Regions from separate parts of the Homo sapiens genome. Here regions 1, 2, 4, 5, 6 and 7 are each linked to region 3. Evidence: promoter capture Hi-C in 16 types of primary human blood cells and fetal thymus (Javierre and others, 2016). All regions are on one chromosome and are shown on one strand. Each heading gives the region's core, a stretch centred on a gene start or on the middle of the fragment in contact. The rest is flanking DNA. Distances are from core to core; before and after follow the strand shown. Region 1 overlaps ZBTB44-DT (ZBTB44 divergent transcript). Region 2 overlaps ZBTB44 (zinc finger and BTB domain containing 44). Region 3 holds the start of LINC02551 (long intergenic non-protein coding RNA 2551). Region 4 has its middle 58 kb from the start of ST14. Region 5 overlaps ZBTB44 (zinc finger and BTB domain containing 44). Region 6 overlaps ZBTB44 (zinc finger and BTB domain containing 44). Region 7 overlaps ZBTB44 (zinc finger and BTB domain containing 44).

The links. Contacts are between HindIII fragments. The CHiCAGO score rates a contact against its expected background, and 5 or more counts as called.
Region 1: a contact is called between a fragment that was not itself captured here and the fragment with the promoter of LINC02551 in region 3, in 2 of 17 cell types (M1 macrophages and non-activated CD4 T cells). The highest score is 5.4, in M1 macrophages.
Region 2: a fragment that was not itself captured here is called in contact with the fragment with the promoter of LINC02551 in region 3 in 3 of 17 cell types (total CD4 T cells, naive CD8 T cells and naive CD4 T cells); the score reaches 5.9 in total CD4 T cells.
Region 4: a fragment that was not itself captured here is called in contact with the fragment with the promoter of LINC02551 in region 3 in 17 of 17 cell types (total CD8 T cells, naive CD4 T cells, naive B cells and 14 more); the score reaches 35.1 in total CD8 T cells.
Region 5: a contact is called between a fragment that was not itself captured here and the fragment with the promoter of LINC02551 in region 3, in 3 of 17 cell types (naive B cells, total CD8 T cells and erythroblasts). The highest score is 7.0, in naive B cells.
Region 6: a contact is called between a fragment that was not itself captured here and the fragment with the promoter of LINC02551 in region 3, in 1 of 17 cell types (total CD8 T cells). The highest score is 6.8, in total CD8 T cells.
Region 7: a fragment that was not itself captured here is called in contact with the fragment with the promoter of LINC02551 in region 3 in 1 of 17 cell types (total CD8 T cells); the score reaches 5.6 in total CD8 T cells.

What each region holds. Positions count from the first base shown.
Region 1 is chr11:130,337,171-130,340,815 of GRCh38, forward strand. The region is part of intron 1 of ZBTB44-DT (ZBTB44 divergent transcript); the gene reads left to right. Among named protein-coding and RNA genes, the nearest start is that of ZBTB44-DT, 24 kb to the left of the region's middle. The HindIII fragment of the contact is 813 bases long and covers 1,291-2,103 here.
Region 2 is chr11:130,236,645-130,240,333 of GRCh38, forward strand. ZBTB44 (zinc finger and BTB domain containing 44) reads right to left here. Exons shown (of 8, transcript NM_001301098.2): 3 at 3,168-3,252; 4 at 1,800-1,963; 5 at 149-449. Among named protein-coding and RNA genes, the nearest start is that of ZBTB44, 76 kb to the right of the region's middle. The HindIII fragment of the contact is 4,573 bases long and covers 1-3,689 here.
Region 3 is chr11:130,860,780-130,864,208 of GRCh38, forward strand. LINC02551 (long intergenic non-protein coding RNA 2551) reads right to left here and starts at 1,331. Exons shown (of 6, transcript NR_125383.1): 1 at 1,187-1,331; 2 at 997-1,049. RefSeq lists enhancers at 692-1,192, 1,193-1,693. The HindIII fragment of the contact is 6,813 bases long and covers 990-3,429 here.
Region 4 is chr11:130,215,436-130,219,305 of GRCh38, forward strand. No RefSeq gene overlaps it. Among named protein-coding and RNA genes, the nearest start is that of ST14, 58 kb to the left of the region's middle. The HindIII fragment of the contact is 1,227 bases long and covers 1,179-2,405 here.
Region 5 is chr11:130,259,170-130,262,956 of GRCh38, forward strand. It overlaps ZBTB44 (zinc finger and BTB domain containing 44), which reads right to left. Exons shown (of 8, transcript NM_001301098.2): 2 at 1,687-2,760. The coding sequence starts at 2,704. Among named protein-coding and RNA genes, the nearest start is that of ZBTB44, 54 kb to the right of the region's middle. The HindIII fragment of the contact is 5,894 bases long and covers 1-3,787 here.
Region 6 is chr11:130,308,219-130,311,788 of GRCh38, forward strand. The region is part of intron 1 of ZBTB44 (zinc finger and BTB domain containing 44); the gene reads right to left. It also overlaps the pseudogene RN7SL778P. Among named protein-coding and RNA genes, the nearest start is that of ZBTB44, 4.9 kb to the right of the region's middle. The HindIII fragment of the contact is 2,125 bases long and covers 790-2,914 here.
Region 7 is chr11:130,285,316-130,289,029 of GRCh38, forward strand. All of the region lies in intron 1 of ZBTB44 (zinc finger and BTB domain containing 44), which reads right to left. It also overlaps the pseudogene NDUFAF2P2. Among named protein-coding and RNA genes, the nearest start is that of ZBTB44, 28 kb to the right of the region's middle. The HindIII fragment of the contact is 1,960 bases long and covers 299-2,258 here.

The DNA.
Region 1 (3,645 bases), core at 447-2,946, 520 kb before region 3:
GTTCTCCAAGTCCCCACCAGATCAGCTAGACACAAAGTGCTGATTGGTGCATTCACAAACCTTGAGCTAGACACAGAGAGCCGATTGGTGTATTCACAATCCCTTAGCTAGACATAAAGGTTCTCCAAGTCCCCACCAGACTCAGGAGCCCAGTTGGCTTCACCCAGTGGATCCCCCACAGGGGCGCCTGTGGAGCTGCCTGCCAGTCCTGCGCGTCCTGCGCCGGCACTCCTCAGCCCTTGGGCGGTCAATGGGACCAGGCTCCGTGGAGCAGGGGGTGGCGCTGGTCAGGGAGGCTCAGGCTGCGCAGGAGCCCACGCGGGGTGGGGCCGGGTTGGTGTTCAGGCATGGCAGGCTGCAGGTCCCGAGCCCTGCCCTGTGGGGAGGCAGCTACGGCCTGGTGAGAAATCAGGCACAGCAGCTGCTGGCCCAGGTGCTAAGCCCCTCACTGCCCGGGGCGGCAGGGCCTGCAGGCCGCTCCGAGTGCAGGGCCCGCCGAGCCCACGCCTACCCGGAACTCACGCTGGCCCGCAAGTGCCGCGCACAGCCCCAGTTCCTGTCCCTGCCTCTCCCTCCACACCTCCCCGCAAGCTGAGGAGGCTGGCTCTGGCCTCGGCCAGCCCAGGAAGGGGCTCCCACAGTGCAGCGGCGGGCTGCAGGGCTCCTCAAGGGCCGCCAAAGTGGGCGCCCAGGCAGAGGAGGCATGGAGAGTGAGCGAGGGCTGTGAGGGCTGCCAGCACGCTGTCACTTCTCACTGGAATTACAGGCAGGAGCCACTGCTCCTGGCCCAGGAGTCTTATCCTTTCGTGGCAGGTGTTCCCATAGCCTCCAAGTATTCAAACTTCACTTTTCTTATCTAAACTTGCAATGAAATGAGTATCCCCCTGCAGTATTAACTATTCACCGCAAACAACCACTGTCAGCCACCTCCAAAACTGCAGCCCTTGCTAGTGATGACTGGCCGTTGCACAAAGATCAGTCTTTCTTTCACAGTGCAAAGGAATCCCTGGTACCCTCAAAAGCCAGAGGAATTAGAGAGGTCAATGTAAAAGAGAGCAGAGCTTTAGCCCCGAGAGGATCTCGCCACAACTCTGGGGCTCCGTAAGGAAAACTGAGAATCCCAAAAAGGAGGCGTGGTGTCTTTTTCTGTGTGGCTCAAGGGGTTTCAGGGCCACTAGAAGTTCCTCCTAGATCTCTTCATGTGGAATCAAAAATAGCAAAAAAGAAGGAGCAGTAGAAGTGGAAGGAAATGGAAGAACAAATCTTAAAGGAGCCAATTTGGAGATTTAAAGCTTTCCAGAAAGGCCAGTGAAATTTTACTTTTTTTTTTTTTTTAAGCAAAATCATGCCAACAAGAAAGGAAGCCGACAGAGGAACCGAACACAATTAAAAAGGGATTTCAGTTGACTGAAAAAAAATTCCCAGAAACAGAATCCAAAAGAGAAAAACAGAAAGACCTCGAAAAAAAACCCCACAAAAACAGCCTGAATATCAGCTTTTAATTTGGTTGATTTCTGACTGTAGAGTTCTTTAAAAAAAAATCTTATCATATCTCTTATTTTCAGATTTCAGCAGGGATAAGTAGCCAATATTTCTGGCTTTTGACCTGTTTTTTCTTTTTTCTTTTTTTTTTTTTTGAGACAGGGTCTAACTCTGTTTGCCCAGGCTGGAGTGCAGTGGCACAAACATAGCTCACCGCAGCCTTGACCTTTTGGGCTCAAGCAATCCCCCGCCTCAGCCTCCTGAGTAGCTGGGACATAGGTGTGCACCGCTATGCCTGGCTAATTTTTTTTTTAATCTTTTTAATTTATAGAGACAAGGTTTGCCATGTTGCCCAGGCTGGTCTCAAACTCCTGGGCTTAAGCAGTCCTCCTGCCTTGACCTCCCAAAGTGCTGAAATTACAGGAATGAGCCACTGTATGCAGCCAGTTGTTTTTTGCTATTGTTTTTAACAAAGGTACCTCCCAAGTGACTTACCAAAAGCAAAAACCTTAGCCAAGGTTATAACTTAAAGAAGGATGCATGAGGTATTGCCAAAGAAGTACAAAGCAGTCCTTACAAGACCCAGAACTACCCCCCCAAAAGACAGCTTAAAAAAAGGAAAGCTTCTCTATGGGCATCTCAGATGAAAGATTAAAACAGTCAGTAAGACAGGAAATCAAAAGCTGTATGGAAGGGAAAAGCGTCAATAACAAATGAGTATCCCAAAAAGTCACGAGTCACATAAATATTAAACCATAACTGGGCCATGGCAGTGAAAGCACCAAATCCTAACCATAGACCACAGAGTGAGTGGGTGCCTTTTTTTTTTTTTTTTGTAAATAAATCCTGCAGGAAATCCAAAGCAGGCAGTGTTTTTTGTTTGTTTGTTTTTGTTTTTAAACTTTAGAGACAGGATCTCACACCCTGGCCGGAGTGCAGTGGTGTGATCTCAGCTCACTGCAGCCTCACCCTCCTGGGTTCAGTTGATCCTCCCACCTCAGCCTCCCGAGTAGCTGGGACTACAAGCATGTGTCACCACACCTGGCTAACAAAGCAGGCAGTTTGAGCATACAAGGATTTTTTTCTTCAGATAACCCTGTTCTGAAAGCATACAAGGATTTTAACTTAGTTTTAGGTCAGAATTTTTGCTCTTTAATTTTGTCAAGATGATTTCTAAGGCTAGCCATAACACGATCATGTGTCTTTTTTTTCCAATTTGATCCTCCCGTAAATACAAATAATGCATTGTTTAGAAAGAGAGACCTCTAAAAACCTTTCAAGTATAGAGTCTTTCTAATTTAAAGGATGTATCTGTTGGTCACTGAAGGTGAGAAATTCTAGAAACTTGAAACTTGAGTTTTTTTTTTTTAATTTTAGAGATTTTTAAAAGTTATTTTGGCATGGTTATCTCTTAGGGACACTAGTTTAGATCTCTGGAGTCTTTTAGATACCTTGAGAAACCCAATTAAAGTAGGCTTCCCACTCAGGCTGTTTATTCTTTCATTTTAGCCCTGTAATTGAGAAGGAAAACAAGTTTTGGAGATTAAAAAAGCTTCAGGTTGGCAATTGTAATTCCAAATCACTTTCAGTGATATTGGTCCACTGAGAATGAAATTTACAAGGTGAATGACCATAATGTTTGTCTAAAAAACAAACAGGTGTTTAAGAAGGGGGGTAACTTAGCACCTATGCCATTAGAAGCAAAAGAGCTCCTGAATACCCACCAAAAAGGGAAGATTTTCTTTGTTGACAGCTGGCAACAAAGGCTACCCAATAAAGGCTTCAACCTCAACCAAGGTGGGAGGTTCAGGAAAATGAGAGGACTCCCCAATAGGGTTTGAGGCTGTCAGGAAGGCAATGGAACGCAAGGAGTTCCTGCAAATACCATGCTTGAAACCACAGCAGCACTGGGACACAGAGGAAGAGAGTCACTTGCATCCCACTTATGACACCATTTAATGTCAACCAAGAAGAGGTGAAAGACCTTACTGCAGAGCAAGGAATCAAGGCATTTATTGGGGTTGTAGGAATTGCAATTCATGAGACATAGATTCAGCTAAAGGCCAAATCATATTCTGAAGAGAGGAAGGAGAGTAAGGATTTTTAAAAGGATGCTGAGAGTGGTTACACTAGTTGTTTTTGAAAGAATTATCGTGGGTGGAG
Region 2 (3,689 bases), core at 525-3,024, 620 kb before region 3:
GAGATTAGAGTATGAACAGTGGGAATCCGTAACAAATGTGACTGACTAGCTGGCAACCTGATGTAAAAACACAGAAGGCTGCCCTAAAAGCAGGAAAAGAGAGTTTAGAAAGCAGTTTTCCTGGTTGGGTTTTCGTTGTGCACCTCACCTGCTCTGGAAGTAGTTTGCTAGCTCTGATGCTTCATGGTTCAGACTCCTCAGGTGCACGATTAAATTTCCAGAGTTGGTGAACATGGCGCCACATGTTTTGCACTCGTAAATCCGAGGCTTGCGGATAATGTGCCGGGAAACCCTCATGTGGTGTTTATATTCCCCGAAGGAAGTGAAAGTGGCACTACATATCTGGCACCGGAAACAGCGTTTACCTTCATGCTTTAGGCGATGCATCTTTAGCGAGTAAGCCCTGGTGAACTTTTTCCCACAGCGGTCACACTGAAATGGTTTAATTCCTGTAAATAAAGCAAAACAAAATATCTAAAAACAAAAATAAACTGAAAAGTCATAAACCCTACAAATTTCTGAACTATATTTCTGTAGCAACAGATCATCTGAAAAGGCAAGAATTACCAGCAAAAACATATTCTAATTGAGTATCTCAGAAAATGTGCAGAATATGTGAAAAGTCACAAGTGCTTAAAAAGGAAAAGAAAAAAAGGCAGTAGGGGAGGCAAACTAGGTAACGTCTACTGAAGCTGATTTTTGAATGCTTTTCTAGATCATCTATTTTACTAACTTCAAAACACAATTTAACTACAGTATGTAGACAGAACCCAAATCCCCACTAACAGCACATATTATTTCATTTCATTAGAGGTTTACATTGAACGGATATGAAAATCATCAGTACCTACTCTCTGTTCCCTATCTCACAGAGAAACGAGAAGAAAGAACAATTTTAACATCTCTGAATGTAATGAGCATGACAGAACCATCATTTGATATAATGGGTTTTTTTGGGTAATATGATGTAATATTGATAGAAATAAATGAGTTATAAAGTGTATTAATAGTCTCCTCAAATTCATTATCACAGTGTTTTGGGGAAAAAATTTTAAAACCTTTCAAAACACAGTCTACGGATTGAACAAAGTCACAGAGAATTGGTGCTAGGACAGGGACTGTAAGACCTATCTACAGAAGGGGAAAGTGAGATAGTAACTCACGCAGCTGAAAACAGCAGCAAAGATCTCTTACTCGTCAGAGGTCAGTGTTTTACCCACAAGAATCCTGTTGCCTTCATGTGATTACTGAACTAAAATTTCAAATCCCCTCTATACATTTATCCAAAATCTCTGTTATGTTTAAAAAAATACAAACTACAAAGCTGACTCATCAGGGCACACAGAGATTTAGGACTGTAGAATTGAAAGTAAATTAGCAAGAAAATATTACATTTTTAAACACACTTTTATTTGGGAAAAATTTCAAACTTAAAGAGACATTATAAGAAGAACAGCACAAAGAACACCCATACAGACCCTTTTAACCCTATTTGCTTTACCATCTGTGTTTGTGATTCTCTATCTCACCTCTATGTGCACACCTAATATGTCTTTTTATTTACAAAGTACTCACTCCATATCACCTTATGTTCTTTTAATCAGAATACTCAACACCCGTGGCAAGCAGCTTTCTGACACTGCATCATTTCAGCAATAAACCTTAGCTAATCTGTTTTCATTTGACTTCCCAGAGTTTTTTTTAAAACTCAGAAGCCCCTGTTTTCTATTTTAACTGGGACTGCAAAATAAAATGTTTTAGAGCGTTCACTTACGCACCAACAGGGAAGGTGACATTACCTGAGTGGATGAGCATGTGCTGCTTTAGGTTCTGAATACGGGTGAATCGCACCCCGCAGGTTGGACACTGAAAAGGTCTGTCGGGACCATTTGGACTTGGTCGCTCTGTACTGCTGGTGGAAGGAGCAATGTAGAGTTGGTAGGGATACTGAACATTTTCCAATCTAAAAAAAACAGACCAAAGAAGGCAACCAGGCTCTGATTTTTAAACTGAATAAACACTGCTATAGGTCAATTTTAAATGAAAAAAGATAAAACACTTAAAGACTTTTTGAAACAGTTTAACTGTTAGACTTCAAGTTTTACTTTAACAATATGAAAAACAATGTTAATGTCCAGAATGCCTTTTGTTTTTTTTTTTTATTTTTTGAGACGGAGTTAGGCAGAAGTCATATCGTGTAGGGCTTTAGAAGGCATAGCAAGGCCTATAGATTTTAGGTATGAATAAAGAATGTTAAGAATCTATAGCTTAAAACAGTGACATAATCTGACTTAATTAAAAAAGAAAAGATGATTTTGGCTGCTACATGGAAAATGGATTAGGGGAAGAATGCAATCAGAGGCTACTTTGAAGGTTATTGCAGTAGTCAAGGCAAAAGATGGTGGTGACTTAGAGTAGGGTGGCTACAGTACAGATTAGAAAAGTAGACAGGGATATATTTTATAGGCAGAGTTGACAGGACTTAAGGATTAACTACGAGGGAGATGAAGAGTGGTAAGGAAAAAAGATTAAGAACAATCCTCAGAGATTTTGCTTGAGAAATTAGGGGATAATGATGATGCTTACTGAAATGGGAGAAAGGCTGGAGAAGCAGGATTCAGACAAGGAGTTAGAAATCAAGAGTTCTGTCTTGGCCTTGTTAAATGTGAAATGCCCTTTATACATTTATGTGGAAATATCAAGCAGGGAGGGAGTTATGGGTATACAGATCAGACTTTGGCAGATGTTTTTCACAGCAGTCCGTACAGCACACATTCTGACTTTGCACACCATACAGTCTGTTTCAACCACTCAACTCTGCCATCCACAAACAATATGTCAGCAAATGAGCCTGGTTGTGTTCCAGTAATACTTGATTTACAAATAAAGGTGGTAGGCTGGAATTGGCCTGTGGTTCATAGTTTGCCAACACTTGGTACAGATACGATTTAAAGCAATGGGACTAGGTAGTTTTGGAAATGCTGGGGAAAAAAAAAAGCCTTGTATAGGTACTCTAATTTATAATGTGATGATGCTACTTCATTACTTTGAAAAGTATACTGAAGTGAGGTTGTAATAAACTTCTACAACTCTTGAGATGAAATGCTTGAATTTGGAGTTGTAAACACAACCCTTAAGAGGTAACGAAATGCTATGTTAGTACTGACCGATCATCATCATCCGGAGGAGCATTAGTGCTAGACGTGCTTTGAAGTGTAGGCAAGCCCTCAGAAACGCCTTCATCTACTGAGCCTGTGAATAAGAGAAAGAGGACCACTGTAATCCTTTGGTGTGAATAAGCCAAGATTGTAACTGAAAGCTATATTATATCTAAGCCTCTGACATATATTATCTAGTGTTCATATCCTGAATTATTAATCCAAAGTAGTGTTCTACATTTTTTTTTTTTTTTTTTGAGACTGAGTCTCGCTCTGTCGCCCAGGCTGGAGTGCGGTGGCGCGATCTCGGCTCACTGCAAGCTCTGCCTCCTGGGTTTACGCCATTCTCCTGCCTCAGCCTCCCGAGTAGCTGGGACTACGGGCGCCCGACACCACGCCCGGCTCATTTTTTGTATTTTAGTAGAGACAGGGTTTCACTGTGTTAGCCAGGATGGTCTCGATATCCTGACCTTGTGATCCACCTGCCTCGGCCTCCCAAAGTGCTGGGATTACAGGCGTGAGCCACCGCAC
Region 3 (3,429 bases), core at 81-2,580:
TGCTGGGTACTAGTGATACTAAGCTGGGTGATAAACCCTGCTAGAGAGGTGCGGCCTGCATGGAGTGGAGAGTGTGTGACAAGGTGAAGCAGCCCAGACAGAAGTGCCAGCACCACCATCCACTAATTGGGTGACCTCAGCCATGCACCCGAGCTCTGGGCCTCATCTTTCCCATCTATAACATGTGGGCATGTACCTTTGTTTTGGCAAATAAATGACAATATATGCTTTTAGAAACTGGTGGCTACTAATCTTATGTAAAGAATGTGTGTATTTATCTTGCCAAATAAATATATGGTTGCTCTTCAATTTCGGATCATGACAAGTCGATATCATAACGAATTTGTTGTATTTCTTGGTCAGGGAAGAAGGAGAGAGAAAAAAACCAGTGCCTAGTGATGACGCCAAGTCAAGGTAAAACCTGGCCAAGGGTGGACCTGGCTCCAGTGTCTCTTCCAGTTCTCCTTCACCCTGGGGATTACTCATTTATCTCTATGAATGCAGATTTATGGACCTATAAATGAATATATGTGTTAGGGCCACCATTGCTTGTTGTAACTCCACAAAGCATGTTGACCACAAAACCTATTGAGGGCCATAGGGGCCCAGCCTGCAACGCAGCCCATCTGCTCCCTGCATCCTCATCCACCGCCTTCCTTACCACCGCCCACCCACATGCCAGCACTGCCGCGCGGCCTCTGCTCCGGCCGTCCCTTGGCCTACACTGCCTTTTCCTAATCTTTCCCAAGTTGACTCCTAACACCTTTTAAGACTGCCTAGAATCACCGGGAAGGCTTCGCTGGCCCACCCCTGCCCGCCCAGCTTCCCCAGGCTGGGGGAAGTCCTTCTTCTGGGGGCTTCCGTGTGCACCTCTGTGCCTCCACGTCCCTCCTCACACGGTGACTTTCCGATGATGCGCCTGCCTCCCCTGTCCATGGATAATGAATTCACCCAGGACAGGGCTTTGTCTTTTTCATTCCTGAATCCGAAGCTTACCTGCTACTAGAGAATTTGTGAATTTCCGTTGAACACGTGGAAGACCTAGGAAGCTGTGGGGGAGAAAGAATGAATGACTTTCTTCAAGGCCTCCTGGCAAAGCAGCAGTGCAGCGGGAACCGGAGCCGGAGGACGCTGGCTCCTCACCTAGAGCCCTCCCTTGGGTCAGGGTGGCTCTTCTCTCCCATACCTAGCGTCCGGCGCTTGGCTTTGTTTCCCGGAGTGGGTGGCACTGTTTGGCCGCCACAGGCACAGCATCGCCCCTAGGCATCGCCCTCCGCACCCGGGGATGCGGCGTCCCCAGCCTTGCCTTTCTTGATGGCTAAAGCAACAGCGCCACCTTCCGGCCTCAAGGCCACCGGGCGTGGCCGGACTTGGGAGACCTTGGGCGCCCTCTTGTGGAATTTCAGAAGTTGGGCTGCGAAAATGACTCCGTTATCCCCAGCTGACCATGAGGCCCGCTGGGCACTTCCACCTCTGAGGTTTGAGTGGTTCAGTGGGCCTGTGCAGGGAAACCCAGCCTAGAAAGCAAGCCTTTATAGCTACCTTGGTGTAGAAGATCAGAGGCATATGAGGTGAGAAACAGGTGACATGTCACGCTCCCTGGAGACAAAATGTCCAGAAAGCTCCTCTAGGCAGCAAATAAAGAAGTTATGAAAAGGAACCGTGGAGAAAAAAGAGGTGAAGGGAAAAGAAAGGGAATGTTATTCTGACCCACATGCCTCACCGCCAGGGCTGAAGTCACTACTAACAAGGCCATTTAGGAAGAGCAGGCTGGAGTTGACAGCCTTTCCCCAGGAGTCCTCTGGTTTCCAGGTCCCCCGGTTTGAAGCACTCAGGAACACACTCAGCCCCTGAATCTTCACTCAGTTCCGTGGTGTTACTGGCAATCGTTGGATATCCCTGGCTGGGGCTCAGCCTCAGCTCCGGTGTCAGCTACATAAGAATCTCAGCATCTTGGGAACGTGAGCTCAACTTGAAATACACTTCCCTGAAAGGATTACTTTGTTTTGGGACAAGGCTCATATCAATCTGTCCTGCCAAGAGATTACTGCTGTTAAACTGTTGGTTTTCACTGCTGTCAAACATAATCTTACAAGGAGAGAGAGGGGCAATCACCCTCAACACCCAGCTGCAAGAGAAGACTTTTGACTGGGCAGGACTTTTCCTGGCACTCTCTGGAGAATAAAAAAGGAATATGTAGAATGGCTGTTGTGTGATTAATGCTTACACCCACAGTGCGGCTGAGCCATTCCCAGGGGTGCACTGAGTGGGATCCCTCTACATGCAACGACCCTGCTGGCATTTCACAGGTGCCTGTGGAGAAGGCCCATTGAAGACCTGGGGCTGAAAGTGCAGCTCAACTTTGCACATATGCTTGGATTTCCTCTCTATTCCAAGGCAGACAGTCCTCAGGGTTTGGCCTAACACACAAAGGATGGGAAGAATAAAGAAACGATGTTCCAACAGTATTTCTGCAGATCTAAGCTACTGAAGGGATGCTGGACCAACCACGATAGATGCTTCCTTTTCCGCAGTGCCTCGAAAAACACTTAGGAGTGTGAAGGAGTGAAATTTTATGCTATTGGCCTTGTTCTCATTTACTTTTGATTATTATAAAATTATTCTAACGCAAAACCCATAAAAAATTGGTAACTCAGAATCTCGCCAGATGAACTGTTACATCGGACTACGCTCTAGGAAGAAGTATTAAAAATCAAAGATATTAACTTTCCAAGTGTTCATTTCCATCTGTTTTCCCTCTCTGGGACTCAGTTTCCTACTCTGTACAATTGGGACGGTGACCTACTTTCAAGGACCTTTATAGTTCAAACGCTCTTCGGTTCTGTGAAAAGAAGCCTTACATCATCCCATGGTGGGCTGCATGTCACATTATCACACAGAGTGGTCCTTGCTTTACAGAAAAATATTCATTTGCTCATTCATTCACCTATCCACTCATTCCACAAACAGTGAGCACCTACGATATTCCTCACACTGCTAAAGGCAGAGCTGTAGGGTGAGCTGTGAATAAAGCAAGGTCCTGGCCCTCATGGGGCTTGCATTCTTATGGGAACCACACACAGTGAAAGATTTAAACATATATAGTGTAACCTGAAGTGATGTAAGCCAGGCACAGAAAGACAAATACCACATGGTCTCACTTACATGTGAACTCTAAAGAGCTGAATTCATAGAAACACTGAATAAAATAGTGGCTAACAGGCTGAAGGGTTGGAGGATTGGGGAGATGTTGGTCAAAGGACACAAAATTTCAGTTAGGAGGAAGAAGTTCAAAGATCTATTGTATAACATGGTGATTACAGTTAACAACATATTGTATATTTGAAAATTGCTCAGAGTATATTTTAAGTGTTCTCACCACAAAAAATCATATGTGAGATAAGACATATTTTAAATAGCTTGATTTAG
Region 4 (3,870 bases), core at 542-3,041, 640 kb before region 3:
TCAGGAACGGAACTTGGAAAGGCCCCAAACACCACTAAGAATGATGAGACCAAACCCCAAAGAAGGAATGGGAGTATTTCTCCCCTGGTTTCATATCTTGGGACTGCCTAGAAGATGGTTCAAGCTGCTGTCCCATGAGATGACCAGCACAGCGTTGACAATGGGGGAAGACATCAGGGTGGGCATCCATTAGGGGTGTAGGGGGCACAGGTGCAACCCACAGCCAGGAGGTGCCTGCAGAGGGGCTAGCCTGGCTCTACGCCAGGGCTTGGCTGGCCACCAAGGAGAAGCCTGTGTATAGACACCTTCCCATGCAGGCTGTTCCCTGCCCTGCAAGCTGATGCGTATATGACACGAATTGCTTCTGTGACCTGATATGCCTACAGCGAGGACACTATATTTTGATAAAGAGATCCTCTTAGGATTTCAGCGGGCTTGACTATCCTTTTCCTATTTCTCTCCTTTTCTCCTCCAGAGGAATGTCTCCTCCCAAGTTCCACTGTCCTGTGCCTGCAACTCGGAGACCATGTGTTCATTCTACCCTTTCCACTCACTCCCATCGTTTCCTAAAAAGCCACTGTCCAGAGCTGCTTGCGGGTATGGGTGGGACTCAGCTCCATTGTCTGTTTATTCCATAGTCTCAGCACCTTCCAGCGGGAGGGATGTGTGTGTTTTCCTAGGATGGAAACTTAGCTCTCCCTTGCCCTTGGCTTGGCTGCAGGCTCCCTCCCCGACGCGCTGCTTTCACCTTGGAGGTTATCACTGTTCCCCTGCCCACACCCCTGGATCAAGAATAACCCAGCCTCTGCGCCAGACCCTCTGGAACTTCATATGGTCTCGTTTAACTCAATAGGGAAAGAGCTCAACAGGGAAATTCTACCACCCTCAGCCTGTGTGCTTTTTCCACAGAGCTCTGAGGTTGCAGTGTGAGGGAGGGGGTCGAGGGACCAGGCCCACCCAGGAAGGGTGGAGAAGATCTCAGTCTTCATGCAGAAGGACATTCGGAGGACAGCTCCCAGAATACACTGGGTATCTGACACCTCTTTGCAGCTCATAATCCAATTCCCATCCAAATCCCAATGAAGACAAATAGGACAGAAGAAATGTATAGGCATAAACTAGGAAAAAAATGAAATCTGTTTGACACATGTGACTCTGTTGCAAAAGAATGGGTAACAAGCTTACTTGAATGAGCCAAGGGAAAGGATGAGAGAAGCAGCCGCTCATTAATTCAACAAATCAGGCATCTGTGACTGCGGAAAGGGCACCCGGTGTAGGCTGGGGGCATCGGGCCCCCAGATGAGGCAGACACTTGGGAAACAAGGTCCTGGGCACGTCTGGGCGGGCAGACAGGTCACATTCCTGGCAGGGTCAGGTCACGGGGTCTGGCCGACCAGCCTGAGCCGAGCACAGGAAAGGTGCCTCTCTGGGGCCTTCTGGGGTGTGTGCGGGGACCTTTATGACCCTCCAAGGCTCAGTGGAGTTGCTGTTTCCCAGGAAAGCAGCTGCCTGAGGGACATCCTTTCAGAACTGGAACCTCACGGTTGGAAAGAACCTGAAATTCAAGGTGACCTACGCCAGATGCCCACGAGGCATTTTAATCCGTCCTAATGTGGGAGCACGGACAGGCCCGTCCAGCCTGGGACCCCACTGTGCTTCCACCCCGTCTTTGTGCCCCTGACCTTGCCAAGTGGGATGCCAAGCGGCCTCTTCCTGTCCCCTGCGCTGGATGTGAGAGCTGGAGAGGCCCTGGAAGAGTGACTGCTCCAATCTGTATGTCAAAGAAGTGTCAGGGACTCTGGCGGCGTGGATGCATCCTCTCACTTCACCTCTCACTTCAGCGTCATCACAGTCCTCGGGAGTGGGTTCTGTCATTCCCAGTTATAGGAGAGGACGCTGTGGCCGTGCAGATAGAGAGCCTGCTGCTCACGGTTCCTCAGTAGGGGAAGAGAAGGGTGCACCTGGGCCACTGGGTCCACCCGCACAGCCTCCTGCAGCCAATGCATGCTCCACCTGGGGCTTTAGGTGCTGGAGCCAGGACCTCTCTCGCCAGGTCATAAACTCACTGGCTTAGGCACACGTGGAAAAGGCCAAAACAGACTTTCGCTGGCAGGACTCCAACCCGGCTCCATTAGCATTTCAAAATCTTCCCCATGTCCTTTCTTTCCTTGGCCACCCCCAGCAGCCCCTGGGCATTTCCCTCTCTAAGGGGCCAAACCATCTGCTTCGTCTTACTCCTCTGCCTGGGGCAGTGTGGACTGGAGGGAGAATATGTTTCCTTGAGGTCTTGGCCGTGGGCACTAGAACAACATGTTCTGTCCTCTGATTCAGGAGGATCAGCCTGTGACCCTCGTCTTCCTCCCTGAGCAGTTCAGTTCTGCTGAAGGCTGCTTGGCCTTGCGGGAAGCTTAAGCAAAGGGAACAGAGGCCAGGGGTGATGGGGCGGGCCTCGGACTGGAGCCTAGAGGGGAAGGGCTGGAGAGAGATTCTGCAGGGCCGGCCCCTGTGCCCAGATTTTCCAGTCCCAAAGAAGACCCACAAACTGGACCTGTGTGGGGGGCACAGAAATATTCCTGCATCATCAGTAACAAGGATTTTCACTGGGACCTGGGGACATGTAGCAAGACCCAAGCTGAAAATATAATTCCATTTTGTTCTAATTCAAAGGCTTCTGAAAAACGAATGAGTGGTTCACAGCTTGAACTATTTTGTTGGGTATTTATTTTAAACAAAAGACATTTAATTTTTTTTTTTTCTTTTCTGAGATGGAGTCTTGCTCTGTTGCCCAGGCTGGAGTGCAATGGCGTGATCTTGACTCAATGCAACCTCTGCCTCCCCAGTTCAAGTGATTCTCTCACCTCAGCCTCTCGAGTAGCTGGGATCACAGGTGCCTGCTACCATGCCTGGCTAATTTTTGTATTTTTATGAGAGATAGGGTTTCGCCATGTTGGCCAGGCTGGTCTCAAACTCCTGACCTCAGGTGATCCACCCGCCTTGGCCTCCCAAAGTGCTGAGATTACAGGCGTGAGCCACCACGCCCAGCCTGGTTTAGTTTTTAAAATAATGTTTTGTAAGTTTGGGTTCAGTAAAGATGATTTGGGCCTGGTTCAGTGTCCGCCCTGGGACTCACTGCAGTGAGGGCAGCAGGGAACGCACAGTGTGTTTCAGCGGGGCCAGCTGGGCAGCAGGGCAGGATGGATGTGTGGTTCAGAAGGCAGCTTTGGGCAGCCCACCTCTCTCCACAAGCCCCTGCCCACACGGTTTATGGTGCGTCTTGGTGAAGCATAGACGTCGAACACCTGTGTTTCCATGAGTAGAAACATCAGGCCTGGAGGCCTCAGATTTGGACACCGCTGTGAAGGTGGCGTTCCAGGGGCTGGCCGGGCTACCTTCCTGTGCCCTGACCCTCACCCCGGGTGTTTTGGGCATACAGTGGGGAACTCACTGTGTCTTGGAGAGGCTGGCAGACACCTAAAGTCCCACAAGCGTTTCCTGAACACTTGACCAAAACGGTCCATCTCTGCACACATGGAGCAGGCCTCACTTCTGTGACCTTGGAGAGTGGTAAGGGCTGGAGCCACACAGGAGTCCCTGGCACATTCCCGGGTTGGAGCAGGTTTATGGGAGGCCAAGGGAATTTGGGAACATGGTCACTACTATGGGGAACCAAGTCCTCTCTTTGCTGTCTTCTCAGGGGTATAGAGATGCTCCTCAGATCACCTCTGCCAGAGCTTGGATTTCTTATTTAATGTACCTGGAAGCCTTCACATCTATAAAGCTTTTCTTCTCCAAGGTTAAATAATGCTGCTAACCTGCTATGTTCATATTAAGGCCTAGGGAAGTGGATGAAGACTTGGGGTGGGGCTTGCT
Region 5 (3,787 bases), core at 1,066-3,565, 600 kb before region 3:
TGCTATCCCCATCAAGTTACCATTGACTTTCTTCACGGAATTGGAAAAAACTCCTTTAAATTTCATATGGAAATTTAATGAGATACCATCTCACACCAGTTAGAATGGTGATCATTAAAAAGTCTGGAAACAACAGATGCTGTTGAGGATGTGGAGAAATAGGAAATGCTTTTACACTGTTGGTGGGACTGTAAACTAGTTCAACCATTGTGGAAGACAGTGTGGCGATTCCTCATGAATCTAGAAACAGAAATACCATTCGACCCAGCCATCCCATTACTGGGTATACACCCAAAGGATTATAAATCTTTCTACTATAAAGACACATGCGCACATATGTTTACTGCGGCACTATTCACAATAGCAAAGACTTGGAACCAACCCAAATCCCTGTCAATAATAGATTGGATAAAGAAAATGTGGCACATGTACACCATGAAATACTATGCAGCCATAAAAAAGAATGAGTTCATGTCCTTTGCAGGGACATGGATGAAGCTGGAAACCATCATTCTCCGCAAACTATCACAAGAACAGAAAACCAAACACCACATGTTCTTACTAATAAGTGGGAGTTAAACAATGAGAACCCATGTACACAGGGAGGGGGACATCACACAGTGGGGCCTGTTGGGGGATGGGGGGCTAGGGGAGAGATAGCATTAGGATAAATACGTAACGCAGATGAAGGGTTGATGGGTGCAGCAAACCACCATGGCATGTGTATACCTATGTAACAAAACTGAACGTTCTGCACATGTACCCCAGAATTTGAATTAAAAAAAAGAAAAAAATACTGCCAGAGAAAACAACTATAAATCATTTTATTTTCAATCTAAAAAGATAAATAAATAAATAATAAAGAAAAAATAAATAAAACTCTGCTACAGTTAAGTTACTGCAGAAGGGATTCCATCACCTGCACTTAAATGCAACCCCTACTGAAACTAGGATTCGAGGCTCTTTACAGCCTGCGCTCAACCACTCCTTTTGTCTGATCTCCCACTATTCCCTACAGTTTCAGGCATCTGTACTTACTTACATCATTTTGCACTGAATTCACTGTTTACCAAACACACAATGCTCTTCCATACCTCTGTGTTTGCATATATGTTCTGTGTTTTTATGTTTTCACAGAAATGACATTCCCACACTTGGGTAAACTCTTACTTATTGCATAAGACCCACTCAAACATATAGTGTAACTTGCTCTTTCCTTTGTTGCAACCATACTACTTTGTTCACACCTCCAGATGAGCACTTTTGATAGTTCACTGTAATCATTTACTTTCATATCTGCTTCCCCAATTAGATGATTAACCTAATTGTCATTGCAGGGACTATGTGTTTTTCTTTATGTATCATAAATGTTTGCTTGGCACATGGTAAGTTTTCAATACATATTTTAATGAAGAATAAAACACAAACTGGATTTAACTGCTTTTTTGTGTATGTGTATCTGCCTTTGTCCCAGCAGATACCATTCAATTATTTTTATCTTCCCCAATGTGCAACTTGTAAAAAATAAACGATAGTGCTAATAGCATCTCAAGCAAATCCAGTTACCATGTTTTACTCTTCTTTATATTTCCTATATGACCGAGCACAAAACTTTTTATCTAACAGGAACTTAAAAATGTTTGAATTGACTTTATAGCACCAAGAAAAACACAGAAGGCATTATACCTATAGAGGAAGACTGTGGACTAATCAGAAGGTCCTCTTGGACTTGTTCACTTCCTGGAACTGTCTGCTGATCACTCAGCGAACTCTGAGATGCACTGACAGGCTGGGACACTTCCTCATGGACCTCCTCATCACTTAATCTTTCTACTTTGACCCGGACATCTTCTTCGGTACCTAAAGGCAAGGTAGTTTTTGTGCTCTCACAAGTCACATAATCAGCCATTCTTCTACCGGTCTCAGATGGGCCAGGTAATTCTAAAGTCCGGGTATTTTCTGCTTGCTTAACTTTCTCAGGCTGAATCCTTCGATCAATTCCAAAAGGAAAAGTCCAAGGAAAAGCTAAGGAAGAGTCAACTGGTTGGTTTCTATTTTCTGAGTAGGAAGCTGAAGAATTCAATACCTGGGGTGAGCTTGTTTGTGTGCCACACTTTACAGGACTTTCAGGAGACATAACAATGTAGCTTTTGCGCTTTCTCCGGGATTCTCGGCAGACAGGAATGGTTCTTTCTACCACACTGCACTCTGAGGACACGGGAGAAATGCTCCCATCTCGAGAAGTAAAATTGCAGTTAGAATTATTTTCTTGTCCAGCATCTAGACCCTTTTCAGGTTGGCTGTTGGGTGTATTCCATAAAATGCTTGATTTCATGAACTCTGAGCAGGTGCTGGCAACACTGAACATTTGCATATAGCTGGCTGCTGCTAGAACATCAATAATATTTTCTGTGTTAATTGATAGAGTGGCTGTGTAAGCATATTCTAAAAGAGGTATAAAGCCAGTCACTGTAACATGATGCAGATCCAACACATTCTTGTTCTCATCCTCGGCTTGGCCTACAAGTTTGGTGCGAAAGAAATCACTGCAAGCTGCTAGTACCACCTTATGTGCCCGGAAGATTTTGTCCTGGACACGAATAGTGATATCACAAAAATGTCCATCATTTCGCAGCATATTTAGCTTTCCAAGCATTTCCTGGCTGTGGGAAGAGGAGCTATGAGTAAATGTTTTCACACCCATCTTTTACTTCCTCTTCTACAGATGCTCTTCAAGGATGCAAATAAATCAGAAATGTCCTAAAAAATACATAAAATAAAGCATTAATTGATATTTTAGTGGTTTAAAATGTGATTTAGATCATTTTCATGTGGCCACTGTACTAAATTAAAAAGCTGAAAGATGGTAGTGACAGAGAAACTTCAAGGTAGGGACTGTATAGAAATATATTCTCCTTATCTGCCTTCCAAACTGTCCAATCAGTGAAGTCTGTGAACCAATGTTTTTTTTTGTTTTGTTTTGTTTTTGAGACAGAGTCTTGCTCTGTTGCCCAGGCTGGAGTGCAGCGGGGTGGTCTTGGCTCACTGCAACCTCTGCCTCCCGGGTTCAAGCAATTCTCCTGCCTCAGCCTCCCGAGTAGCTGGGATTACAGGCACCCGCCCTCATGCCTGGCTAAGTTTTGTATTTTTGTAGAGATGGGGTTTCACCATGTTGGCCAGGCTGGTCTTGAACTCCTGACCTCAGGTGATAGGCCTGCCTAGGCCTCCCAAAGTGCTGGGATTACAGGTGTGAGCCACCATGCCCGGCCTGTGAACCAGCGTTTTAATGAGCTGCAGGGCTGCAACAGTTTGTAAATAATGACAATTATAGAGTGTCTTCTATGTGCCAGACAGTATTTGAAATGCTTCACATTTAATAGTTAGTTGATTGTCATCATATCTCTATCAGTAGGCGTATTATCATTCCTGTTTCTAAATGTGAGCATGCAGCAGGCAATGCCAGTGTAAACACTGAACAATCCATTACATAATCATCCCTGTTAATGTTTTATGCAGGTAAATGTATAGAGGAAAAGAAAGATGGGAAAAAGAAAAAAAGGAAGTGGAAAGAAAAAAAAAAAGATTTCAAGATGAATTTAAAAAGGTTGCCAGGTGTGGTGGCTCACGTCTGTAATCCCAGCACTTTGGGAGGCCAAGGCAGGCGGATTGCTTGAGCTCAGGAGTCCAAGACCAGCCTGGCCAACATGGCAAAACCCTGTCTCTACAAAAAAACACATAAAAATTAGGCGGGTGTGGTGGCATGGGCCTGTAGTCCCAGCTATTCGGG
Region 6 (3,570 bases), core at 602-3,101, 550 kb before region 3:
TACACTTTATGATGTTCATACAATGACACAATCGCCTAACGACGCATTTCTCAGAACATATCCCCGTTGCAATCTCTGAGGTTGTTACAGCATCAGTCATGTAGTTCCGTATTCATGGTGACTGAAAATTTATTCAATTTTTATGACTTGTTACATTTAGTTGTGAGGTGGAGCAAAGCAGCTAAGTGCTAACTCTAAACAGCCTTGAATTTGAAACCTGGGTCGGCCACTTATTGTGATACTCTAGGCAAGTCATTTAATGCTTTTAGATACCAGTTTCCTTACTGCAAAATAAGATACTAGTAGCAATGTCAAAGTGTTAATGTGAGATTTAAATAAGATAATGTATAAAATGTTTAGCACAGCTGGCATACAGAAAGGGCATAACAAATGTTAGCATTATTATCAACACTGTATTAGTTCATTCAGCCTACACAACAGGTTCTAGCTGCTACATGGCTACACATACCCATGCAACTGTTTATAGTATTCTTCTTCATCACCTTATATGTTCTAAGAACCTTGGGTAGTGTATGTATTTTACTGAGATTAAAGACAGAATGAGGGTGAATGGGTCCAAGTGCAAGCATTCTCCATCTTCCCACTCCACTCCCTAATGGAACTAGATGTTCACTCTGTTATTGAAAGCAGTGATTGTGGAGTCCTAGTAAGGGAAAAGGAGTCAGGCGGGTGGGAAAAGGGTACAGCAAAAAGAAAAAGCAGATAAGGTATAAGTCTGCCTTTCTTCATGGTCCAAGACACACAGCCCTCTTGCACAAATAACTCACAAGCTTTCTGCACTCAACTTATCACCAGACTCTCAGCTGACAGAAAAATGCAAGTTAGCTCACTGCAACCTTGGCCTTATCAGTACTGCACATAGCCCTCTCTGCAGCACACAGCAGAAGCATCATCCTGTAACATGCCCAGCAAGCCATTGTCTCCTGGCAGTCAGCTTCTCTCTTGCTGATCTGCCCGTTGCACCCTTGCAACCAACCTACTTTCATACTTTCTCTAATAAATCTGCCCTTCTTTACCTACAATTGCCTTGGTAATTCCTTTACCACCTGCAACGCCAGCCTCAGCTAGTGTGACCTATGACAGTGAGGATGAACACAGGAAAACACACTACAGGCACAGTTTTGCTTTTCAGCACTTGGTTGACAGGAGGCTGATAAACTGCCTAATTGTGCTCTGCTTACTTTAGATGAACACTGCTCCCTCTTAAAACTTCATTTGAGATCACATAATTATGAATTTATATCAAATTTGGTCCAACCCAAACAAAATGTGTTATCTCCACTGATCACATATCCAAATGCCTTTTTATCTGTACATAGCATATTTATGCCAGTTTTGTTGTAGATGGAGTCACCTGGGCGCAGTGGCTCACGTCTGTAATTCCAGCACTTTAGGAGGCCAGGATTACACTTCAGGAGGCCGAGGCAGGTGAATCACTTGAGGTCAGGAGCTCGAGACCAGCCTGGACAACATGGTGAAACCCCATCTCTACTAATACAAAAATTAGCTGGGCGTGGTGGTACATGCCTGTAATCCCAGCTACTAGGGAGGCTGAGGCAGGAGAATCGCTTGAACCCAGGGGGCAGAGGTGGATTGCAGTGAGCTGAGATCGAGCCACTGCATTCCAGCCTGGGCAACAGAGGGCGACTGCATCTCAAAAAAAAAAAAAAAAAGTTAAAAAAGTAGATGGAGTCATAAAACCTCTACCAACTACCTGCCTCTTTAAAGACATGATTTAAGTAAAAGCTACAGTTCTATTTTTATGGAATTTTTATTTAAAAATATGGTATCTAGGCCTACGGCTACAGGCTTACATGTGTAATCTTAGCACTTTGGGAGGCCAAGGCAGCAGGATCACTTGAGCTCAGGAGTTTGAGAGATCAGCCTGGACAACATAATGAGAATCTATCACTATTTTAAATCACTATTTAAGAAAAAGAGCTGGGCGCAGTGGTGTGTGCCTGTAGTCCCAGCTACTCAAGAGGCTGAGGCAGGAAGATCCCTTGAGCCCAGAAGTTCTGGACTGTAGTATCCTATGCCGATTGGGTGTCTGCACTAAATTAGGCATCAACATGGTGACCTCCAGGGAGTGAGGGACCACCAGGTTGCCTAATGAGAGAAGTGGCCCAGGTCAGAAACAGAGCAGGTCAAAACTCCCGTGCTTATCAGTAGTAGGATCACATCTGTGAATAGCCACTGCACTCCAGCCTGAGCAACACAGTAAATCCCCCGTCTTTAAAAAAAAAAAAAAGTAAGCATGGAATCCACTTCTCTGCTAACTTCTAAAAACTAGTCTTAGTTCTCTTTGCCAGAGGAAGCAGAATCTAATTTTAAAATTTAAAAGTACTTCTATGTGGCTTCACATAACATAATTTGTCTATTGCTAATTCTTCTGAGCTTGATGTGAGAATGTAGTAGATACTAAAAGGAGTATGGTAAAGGTAAACAATACTTCATCTTTAAAAACTAATTTTAATGAGGTTTATCCAAATATAGTTTTTTTTTGTTTTGTTTTGCTTTTGAGATGGAGTCCCGCTTTGTCACCCAGGCTGCAGTGCAATGGCGCAATCTTGGCTCACTGCAACCTCCCCGGTTCAAGCAATTCTCCTGCCTCAGCTTCCCAAGTAGCTGAGACTACAGGCATGTGCCACCATGCCCGGCTAATCCAAGTATAGTTTTAAAACATTATTTTGACTTCTACACTATGTACATACTTTACATATTCAAAAATAAAATCCTAAGTAAAAACTGAAACCTATGAACCATATCAAATTGGTAGCATAACCAGAGAAAAGTATTTCAAGTGACTTTTGAACACAGTACTCATTATACATTCTTCATGCAATATAGTCTAAATACGAAAATAAATGCAAAGAAATCTTAAACTACATGAAGCTTATTGGTATTAGCAATACCAGCACTATAATTTTAAAATGATTTTATGTATACAGTGGGAGAAAGCAAATAAGTTTATTATTTTTTTTGGAGACAGGGTCTCACTCTGTCATCCAGGCTGAAGTGCAGTGGGGTATGAACATGGCTCACTGCAGCCTCAACCTCCTGGGCTCAAGTGATCCACCTGCTTCAGCCTCCTGAGCAGCTGGGAACACAGGCACACACCACCACGCCTGGCTAATTTTTTTATTTTTTATAGAGATGGGGTCTCATCATGTTGCCCAGGCTGGCCTTGAACTCCTGGGCTCAAGCAATCCTTCCACCTCGGCCTTTCAACGTCCTGGGATTACAGGCATGAGCCACTGTGCTTGGCCAGTTTATTAACTGTATTAAAAACCAAGATTTTCATTTAAGACAAGAGACAAATATAGAGTCAAGGAAGAAAAAGTCTGCTTGTTAAATAGGAATTGGAATATCACTCTGAACTCATGATTAAACAAGCAAAAACCTTTTTCTTAGTTCTCTCCTCTCAAAGCACCTAGAAGCAATGATACTGCAGCAGCAACGAATATGCCAAACATCCAGAACTTGGTTTCTATATACGATTTCTCATTAAAAAGAACCAAGACTCCCTGGATAAACAGCTCTTTCCAG
Region 7 (3,714 bases), core at 29-2,528, 580 kb before region 3:
AGTTTCGCTCTCGTTGGCCAGGCTGGAATGCCGTGGCACAATCTCGGCTCACTGCAACCTCCGCTTCCCGGGTTCAAGTGATTCTCCTGCCTCAGCCTCCTGAGTAGCTGGGATTACAGGCGTGCACCACCATGACTGGCTAATTTTTGTATTTTTAGTAGAGATGAGGTTTCACCATGTTGGCCAGGCTGGTCTCGAACTCCTGACCTCAGGTGATCTGCCTGCCTTGGCCTCTCAAAGTGCTGGGATTACAGGCGTGAGCCACCACACCCAGCCTCTTTTTTGTTCTTCTGATCTAAGCTTCCCATTCTGTTGGAATATCCCCTACTTCACAGTCTAATTTTTTATTTGCTGCTTCTACAATTCTTTTCTCTTGAATAGTTTGTCCTCACCTCTCCAGTTCTTGTACTCTGGAATAGAGTAGTATTTGTTCCCAAACCAGTTCATGCCCACATGCTCCTATACTTCTTTTGACAGTGATATCCACAAGGCACACAACAAATCCTGAGACCAACCCGTGCTGTCCACTCTGCTCTCAGAACTGCTAGCAGCCAGTATGCAGCAGGGGTAATGCTCCAGCCACTGATCCAGCCCACCTACAAGTATTCTTTCTAGTGATTTGATAATAGTGTAAGAAAACTTGTTTCTATAAAGGAACTGTTCTTGTTGGAATAAAAATCTTACTACTTCTAAAACTCATATTCGATCTGTTCAAAGCAGTAAATCAACTATCCGAAAAGTGACAAACTACACAACTAAAAAGATTGATGTGGAAAAATGTTAGGACTCATTACAGTCAATTCCTTTCTAAATTATCAGACTGAGACGAAATCAGGCAAATTCTGTAACAAAGTGATCTTTAAAAAAATGAAAAAATCACCAATGGGCCAGAATATTAAAAGCTGAGTCCTTAGCTGTAGTTATTTGCTGCCTAACAACCTAAAGAGAAAAAAGTGACTGTGAAAATGACAGATATTAGCCTATTCTGATTATCTGAATATCCCAGAAAAATACATACTTTTTGACCTGTAAATGTATTTTTAAAATTACAATAAACTTAAAAAAAATCTATTAATTTGAATAGTCTCTGAAACTTACTACCTGAAATTTTCCCCATAAATTATATCTCACACTATAACTACTCAATTCCTATTAAGGTTTCTAATTCTAGATCTGCCATAGACACTCGTGGTATCCCTGTCCCTTTGAACTACAGAAGATTGCTCCAAGGATAAATACATTTGAATCTTCTGACACATTACTAAGCATTAATTAAAAGAATTATAGTCTTTTCATATTACCCAAAACTCAGTGACAGATTTCTTCACCTCATGCATAATTAGGCTTTGAGTATTTCACATTCAATTCAATTATCAATGAATATATTAACGTTGCCTGGAGACAGCATGTCCACTAGGTAGAACAACAGCTTTTTAGTTCAGACAGACCTGCATGTTAATCATGGTTATATGACTGTAGTGGCTGGATGACCTTAAACAAGTGAGCTTTCTGAGGACTGTCATACAGATTCAATGAGATGAGTCTATGTAAAGAGCCCAGTGCCCAGCACAGACTGTTTATATAAGAATATGGTGCAGCAGTGATTAACAGATAAGCTATCATTATTGACAGATCTCTGACTCTACCACCTTTGACTAAAATCTCAGCAATATCCCTCTGAATGTCAATTCTGGGCTTCTACTGACCAGCTAGAGTGCTAGACAATTCCATCTGAATGTGTTCGCCATCTTGCAAATTCAATGTCTGAAAACAAACTCAAATTATTACCCAACTAACATACCACTACAGAATTTCTTAATCTGTTAATCATGGACACCTTCAATTGCTCAGTCACCCATAGCTTAAAATCTAGTACTCATTTTTGATTCTCCATGCCCCATCCCTCACCTCCCATCAAAACTGGGTATCATCCATCAGGCACTCTCCCTTCACAGCCAAGTTTATAAAAATTACAGATACTCCCCACTTATAAATGTTTATCATAAATCAAAGTCATTTCTCAGAGCAAGAGTGTTAACTATGCCTATTACCAAGAGATGATAATAATGGACTTGTGTGGTCATGTAAGTCTTAGCTCTCTAGTCTTCATTAGTTTTTTCTCTGTGCTTAGTTTTGAGGTATATTACTAAATCCAGCATGTTCGATAAGCACAAAAACAGTAAGAATGGTGAAAGTACTAACAAACAGAGGTAAGTGTTGGAAATAAAATGCAGAGACATATTAATAAAGAATAAGAAAGCTTCTGCTCCCATAAATGGGATCAATATTAAATAGAATGAATGACTCTAAAGTACTTGCAACAAATCCTGCAACATATGAAGATGATATACCTACATGATAACTGATAATAGTAAGAGAAGGAAATAATGATTGGAGAAATGGAAAAACTTTGGAGTATGTGGTTAGAGTGGGATTAACACTAGACAGCGGATTTTAAACTCGAATCTCAGGCCTCTTTACACTCTTAAAATTTATTGAGAACCCAAAAGAGCTTTTATTTACATGAACTATATCTAAAAATATTTACCGTATTATAAATTAAAACTTAGAAATTTAAAAAATTATTCACCTAAAAATAACAGTACATTTTAAGACAACATAGTTTTCAAGAAACTAAATTTTCTCAGACAAAAAAAAAAAAAAAGAAAGAAAAAGGCAAGAGTAGCACTGATTTTTGAAAATCTCTTTAAGTCTGGCTTATTGGAAATCAGCTGAATTCTCACATGTGTTAAGTCTGTTACAGTATCACACTTCAGCTGAGCACAGTGGCTCACACCTGTAATCTCAGCACTATGGGAGGCTGAGGCAGGCAGATCACCTGAGGTCAGGAGTTCAAGACCAGCCTGGCCAACATGGTGAAACCCCCGTCTCTACCAAAAATATAAAAATTAGCCGGGTGTGGTGGCGCACACCTGTAGTCCCAGCTACTTGGGAGGCTGAGGCAGGAGAATCACTTGAACCCAGGAGGTAGAGGTTGCAGTGAGCCGAGATCATGCCACTGTTCTCCAGCCTGGGTGACAGAGCCAGACTCTGTCTCGGGAAAAAAATAAATAAATAAATAAAATAAAATAAAAAAATAACATTTCAAGTAGGTAGCCTCTGGAAAACTCCATTGTATATCTAAGAATAAGAAAGAAAAATGGCAAGTAGTGTCTTAAAACACTGCTAGAAGACTGTTTTAATCTCACGTACTCTCTAAAAGGTTCTCGGGATCCCCAGGAGAGTCCTCAGACTACATTAACCACTGCTTTCAAGTTTAATGTTAAAAATCAGGACACAGGCCTGGTGCGGTGGCTCATGCCTGTAATCCCAGCACTTTGGGAGGCCGAGGCAGGCAGATCACCTGAGGTCAGGTGTTCGAGATCAGCCTGCTCAACATGGTGAAACCCTGTCTCTACTAAAATACAAAAATTATCCAGGCATGGTGACACGCACCTGTAATCCCAGCTACTTGGGAGGCAGAGGCACGAGAATCGCTTGAACCCGGGAGGCGGAGGTTGCAGTGAGCTGAGATCACACCACTGCACTCCAGCGTGGGTGACAGAGCGAGACTCCGTCTTAAAAAAAAAAAAAAAGAAAAAGAAAATGAGGACATGGTTAGGAATTTGTAGACAAGAACTTAAAACAAGACTAAGCAAGGTGAATGGACTGCTGTTTAAATAAACCACAGAAAGACAGTTCCACATCTGCAAG